2 separate regions of the Homo sapiens genome follow, and region 1 is linked to region 2. The links are contacts of gene promoters, found by promoter capture Hi-C in blood cells and fetal thymus (Javierre and others, 2016). All regions are on one chromosome and are shown on one strand. The core of a region is centred on a gene start or on the middle of the fragment in contact, and the rest is flanking DNA. Distances in the headings are between cores, read along the strand shown.

Region 1 (2,931 bases), core at 266-2,765, 690 kb before region 2:
TGTCTGGAGATAAGTCCAAGTTATAACTGGCATTCAGTGTCTACATAATTTACTCCAGCATGTATTTATAGACTTATCTGCTTCTGCTTCTCAATCCAATTTCTGTATTTTAGCAAAATAATATTATTTTTCTCTCAAATTCACCTTGTGCGTTTCCATTTCTAAAAACTTCTTTCTCCAGGCACATGTTATTTCCTTCCATCTATATTTCTCACATTCCTGCAATCTGTCAATCAAAATTATATCCATCCCTAAGATCTGATTCAAATCACGCCTTCTCCAGAAAGGCTTTCCTGATCGTTCTAGCTAAAAGGCCTCTCTCCTTCCTCGAAACTCTGATATCTCAGTTTGTCTGTCTGTTATCACCTTACCTTATAGCTTAGTTATTGTATACTCACCTTCCCTACCTCCTGCTTTAGTTAGACTGTAAACTCTCTGAGGACAGGGTCATTCTTTTTAATCTCTGTATCCCCCACAGCCTCTAAGACAGCCTTTTGCACTTAATAGGAGCTCAACAAACATCTGTTGGGAAATGAATGAGAATCACATAATGAGTAGTTAAGGAAACATGAAATGAGTAGTTAAGGAATTTTAGAATCCTGAAAAACTCAGCTGGTGACTGGGTCCCGAGTAAAAGAGAAGAGCATGAGCAGGAAGTGAGCTGGTTTGATCCCTCTTTGGAGGCAGCCAGCTGCAGCCCCAAAGAAATCTATTTCGTTTAAAAAAACAAAAACAGCAAACAAAGTTGGCAGAGGAAGTGATGACGTCAACATTCCGTTTCTGCACAGATGTATCACTCAATTAAACTCAATAGCTCAAACACCAAATTACTACATCTTCACCCCTCATCCTCCACCTAGCTTTCTCAAAACACACACACTCATGCCTAGGGGACAGACAGCAAATATGTTTTAGAATTTTGGTAGGTATTCTTGGTAGGGCAGAAAGTGTCATCCAGAATTCTCTCCTCAGGTACTATATGCTGGGAAAATGGGGATAGCAATATGTGTGTGCAGTGTTTCAGTTCTTTTTTGGTAAAGGCCAAGATTGTAGATAAAAATTCATTTTAGTTGGATTTCTGCCATTACTGGTATCAAAAATAACTCCATTTTAGTGATGCTGAAAAGTACTGAGCAGGTGGCTGGAAACCTGGCACACTGTCCCAGAGATCCTGGCAGCAAACTCTGAGAGTGCACAGGGACATTGGATAGCTAGACAGGGCATGGCCCGAGCAGGGTTGGCTTTGACTGGGGCTACATGCAATCAGTGTAGGTCAGAAGGAAGGAGAGAAAATTTATGTCACAACAAGATGTCACCTACACAGTTGAGGAGCTGGTCATTGCATGTCCAGAGTTCACACCTCCATTGCTGAGTCAGTATTGAGAGTCAGGTTGCTTTGTTTTGTCTTGTTTTTGTGTGTTTTTTTTTGTTTTCACAGCCTTTTTGAGGTGTCATTTATATACCTTATACCCATTGCAAGTATACAACTTAATGATTTTTAATAAAGGTATAGAGTTGTATGACCATCATCACAATCCAGTTTTATTACATTGTCATAATCCTAAACATTTTATTAAGCTCATTTGCAGCCCAAACCAACTTCTACCCCACCTCCCCAGGATAATCATTAATCTGCTTTCTGTCTCTATAATTTGCCTCTTCTGGACACTTACTATAAACGAAATCATCTAATATATACTCTTTGCATCTCTCTTCCTTTTTTTTTTTTGAGACAGAGTTTCGCTCTGTCGCCCAGGCTGCAGTGCAGTGGCACGATCTCGGCTCACTGCAAGCCCCACCTCCTGGATTTACACCATTCTCCTGCCTCAGCCTCCAGAGTAGCTGGGACTGCAGGCGCCCGCCACCACGCCTGGCTAATTTTTTGGTATTTTTTTTTAGTAGAGACTGGGTTCACCGTGTTAGCCAGGATGGTCTTGATCTCATGACCTCGTGATCCGCCTGCCTCAGCCTCCCAAAGTGCTGAGATTACAGGCGTGAGCCACTGCGCCTGGCCTACATCTGTCTTTTTTAGGCATACTTTTTATTAGGTTCATTCATGTTGTAATATGTACCAGTATTTTACTCCTTCGTATTGCTGAGTAGTATTCCATTGAATGAGTATACCATATTGGGTTTATCCACTCACCAACTGGTAGACATTTGGATTTTTTCCAGGTTTTGGCTAGTACAAATAATGCTGCTATGCACATTCAATTATGAGTCATTGTATGGAGATGTTTTCATTTCTCTTGGATAGATTCCTCAGAGTGAAGCCACTGAGTCTTGGGTAAGTTTTTGTTTAACTTAAGAAAGAACCAAAGAATTTTCCAAAGTAGCTGTACCATTTTCATTTCTTCCAGGAACATGCAAGCATTCCAGTTTCTCCACACCCTCACTAATACTTAGTATTACCTGTCTTTGAATATAGCACTCTACTGAGCATATAAGAGTATCACATTATGTTTTTTTTTTTGAGATAGAGTCTCGTTCTGTCCCCCAGGCTGGAGTGCAGTGGTGCGATCTCAGCTCACTGCAAGCTCCGCCTCCCGGGCTCATGCCATTCTCCTGCCTTAGCCTCCCGAGTAGCTGGGACTACAGGCACCTGCCACCACACCCGGCTAATTTTTTGTATTTTTAGTAGAGACGGGGTTTCACCATGTTAGCCAGGATGGTCTCGATCTCCTGACCTCATGATCCACCTGCCTTGACCTCCCAAAGTGCTGGGATTACAGGCGTGAGCCACCGCGCCCAACCCACATTATGATTTTAGTTTGCATTTCCTTATGACTAATGATGCTGGGTGCCTTTTCATGTGTTTATTTGCTATTAATATGTCTTCTTTGGTGAAATATTTATTCAAGTCTTCTATCATTTTTTAATCAGTTGTAATTAAAATTACTATAATTACTGAATTGTAAAGCTACCTTTTAT
Region 2 (3,244 bases), core at 67-2,566:
CCAATCCTCTCCCTCCAACCCACAGCCCAGCTGCATCAGCCATGCCAGGACCAAGCCGAGGGTAGGAAGCCGGTGTAATTGTCTGCCTCTCTGGCTGCATTCCTTAGCTAAATATAAATGATTTGTCCAGGCTATTGTTTGAAATTATCCATAATCCCTCTCCTCCCCTCCCCATTACTTATGATGGCAAGCTGGCTGCGTATCTCTATAGCAAAGCATATATTCAACATTCTCTGTGGCTATTTTCAGTAAAGAGAAGGGAGCTGGCAGGTATATATAGGGATCCTCGCATGAGTCTTCAGTTTTCTCCACTAGTCCAGGAAAGCTTCCTGGAGGAGGAAATACCTGAGTCACCCCAGGGAAAAGGACAGCTGCAGGTCAGAAGGGCACGCGCACATAATGAGAGACTGGGTCTCTGAACTAAGAGTTACCAGGTAAGGCAGGTAAGCCCCTGCCTTCTTACCCCCCGTTTTGGTGATGCGAGAAAAAGGTAGCTCAGGGGATCCCATACTAGCCCAAGCTTCCCCAGACAAAACAGGCATTTGGGGGAAGATGAAGCAGTGACTCGTATATTTTTCAAAGAGGGAGGAGATCCAAGACTCCAGTTCCAAGATGTACAAGTACAAATATTGCTCTTACAACAACAAGCCGGTTTCTTGTTTGGATCTTTTTTTAAAAACCACAAGAAAGTTTTTTGAAGTCCCAAACTTGAATGCACAGATGGGCTAGATCTCCAACTTCGGGATGTGCCAGAGTCCTGTCACTCGGAGTGCTGATCTTCCAGCAGTGGCCCAGGGAGCGGTCGCGGGTGCCGGGGGGCTGCAGGCCATATCCCAGCCCTGCCCGAAGGCCCCCTGGCCCTCTCTGGGGTCCTTGTATGGACTGTCCCAAGCGGTGCACGGGGTCACACAGTCGGAAACCCTTGCCGGCCCCGGGTTACTCCCTTTCTGAAACGGTCTTCCTCGGAGCCATCCCCTGGAGGACCCCACTTCGCTCGGTGCCCGGGCCCCGCACCCACCCTCCCCTTCCCGGCCCGCTTCCCGCACGGCGCCTACTCTGTTCCTCGTCCTCTCGTCCCACCGCCGCCCTGCCCACACTGCCTCCCGTGGGCGCCCCCGGCCGCTCCCCCTTCTCGGGTCTCGGCCTGGGGGTGCCCAGCCCGCCCGGCGCCGGCTCAAGGCCGCGCGACTCCGCACGCTCTCGAGACCCGCCTCGCCGCCCGCCGCCCGGGCCGCACTCACCGCGCCCGCAGGACCTGGGGGTCTCCGCTCTGCTCGCGCTCCGGCACCGCCGCCGCCGCCGCCGCCAGCGGAAACAGGGGGCGGGGCCTGCCCGGGAATGGCGAGCCTGCGGGGCGGGGCGGCCCGGGGGCGGAGCGGGGAGGGGCGGGGCGGAGCGGGGAGGGGCGGGGCGGAGAAGGATCGCAGGGCTGAGCGGGGCGCCAGCGCCAGTGCCCGGCACTGCCCCGGGCTGGGTCCCCTGCGTTAGAGGAAGGGGAGCCCGGGGACGGGGCACGGGGCCCGCGAGGCACGGGTGCTCTCTCGGGGTTCCGGAAGCCTCCCTCCCCGCCCCGCCGCCCGCATGCCCGGACCGGCCGCTCCTCCGAGGTGCTATGATCCCGCCTTCCCCCTGCGGCGAACGGGCCTCTTCCCGGGGTAGGGGCGGGGAGGTCCGGGCCTGGCAGTGCGCTCTCCTGGGCTCTGCGCCCACACGGCACCCAAGGGCCTTCCTGGCCCAGGCCTCGGCTCTCTCCCTCGCGCCAGGCTGCCTGGCCTCGCCACCCCACCCCCACACCTACGAACCCCTTCCCTGGTGTTTCGGGCGGACTGTGCGAGATGCTGACAGCGCGGGTGTGTGTTGGAGCCTGCCTGAGACACCTCCCGCAGAAAGGGCCATGCCTCCCCAGGAGCTGGCGGCCTCCAAGGGCGACTACAGGGCACCGTGTGCCTGAGGGGTGCGCTAAGGCAGGAGAAACTCCAGCTAGGCATGTCTGGCCCGGGCGCTTTTTCAGGCCTGGATTTTATGTGTTTTTTGCTTTTTGTTTTGTTTTGTTTTTTCTTGAGACAAGGACTCACTCTGTTGCCCAGGCAGGAGTGCAGTGGTGCGATCACGGCTCACTGCAGCCTCGACTTCCCGGGCTCAAGTGATCCCGCCTCAGCCTCCAGAGTAGTTGGGACTGTAGGCGCGCACCACCACGTCCGGCGAAGTTTTTGATTTTTTTTGTACAGACGGTGGTCTCCCTGGGCCCAAGCTGGTCTCAAACTCCCGGGCTCAAGCCATCCTCCTGCCTCTGCCTCCCAAAGTGCTGGGATTATAGGCCCGGATTCTTAAAGCTAGAAGGCCTAAACTTGTTTCCAAAGAGCACTAAAACGCCATCTCTTCTCATCATTACTGTCATCAAAAATGTCTTCTAGGCCAGGTGTGGTGGCTCACGCGTGTAATCCCAGGACTTTGGGGGGCCCAGGTGGAAGGATTGCTTGAGCTCAGGAACTCAGGAATTCAAGAACAGCCTGGGCAACATAGGGAAACCCCATCTCAAAAAAAAAATGTTTTAATTAACCGGGTGTGGTGGCACACCCCTGTAGTCCCAGCTGCTCCGGAGGCTGAGGCTCAGGCGTTGGAGGCTGCAGTAAACTAGGATCATGCCACTGTACTCCAGCCTGGGCAGTAGAGGGAGACCCTGTCTTTAAAAGTGAAATTTTTTTAAATTTTAAAGAAACTGTATGCTGTGCTTCCCACGTGCCCTACCATTGCACTAAGCTTGACTGGGGACAAGTTTTTAAAACCTGGCTATAATCACTAGGGTCACTTTTGCTTTCTGCTAATTAGACTGGAAGTTTCCACTCATCTTCTGGGCCCCTTTCCGTCACACACATGCAACCTTGTTTTTGTCTATTAGACTAAACCCATAACCCATTTCCTTCTGATCTCCCTTTCCCCACAAGGAAAATATTCTCCTTCTACATTTTGCTTCATCCAAAGCCCTGTTCAATGCCCCTATAACAAAGTCTTCCCAAGGAACCCCCACCAGCCCCAATCTCTCCAGTCACTGCGGCAGAGTTGGGTACATGTACCCAGAAAAGGAAACTGGGTCTCAGACAGGGAAAGAGATATACTAGGATTGTCTGCCAGCAAGCCAACTCACTGGCAGACCATTGGACGCAGCCTGGTGAGGGAGTAGCCGCAGGGCTTGGGAGCCAGACACACCTGTCTGAATCCTGGCTCTGCTTTTATCGGCTGGGAC

Evidence for each region. Contacts are between HindIII fragments. The CHiCAGO score rates a contact against its expected background, and 5 or more counts as called.
Region 1: a fragment that was not itself captured here is called in contact with the fragment with the promoter of TSPAN9 in region 2 in 1 of 17 cell types (endothelial precursors); the score reaches 5.1 in endothelial precursors.

The regions. Positions count from the first base shown.
Region 1 is chr12:3,770,366-3,773,296 of GRCh38, reverse strand. No RefSeq gene overlaps it. Among named protein-coding and RNA genes, the nearest start is that of CRACR2A, 19 kb to the right of the region's middle. The HindIII fragment of the contact is 3,658 bases long and covers 1-2,931 here.
Region 2 is chr12:3,075,451-3,078,694 of GRCh38, reverse strand. TSPAN9 (tetraspanin 9) reads right to left here and starts at 1,316. Exons shown (of 9, transcript NM_006675.5): 1 at 1,242-1,316. RefSeq lists silencers at 1,211-1,710, 1,761-1,810. The HindIII fragment of the contact is 2,240 bases long and covers 523-2,762 here.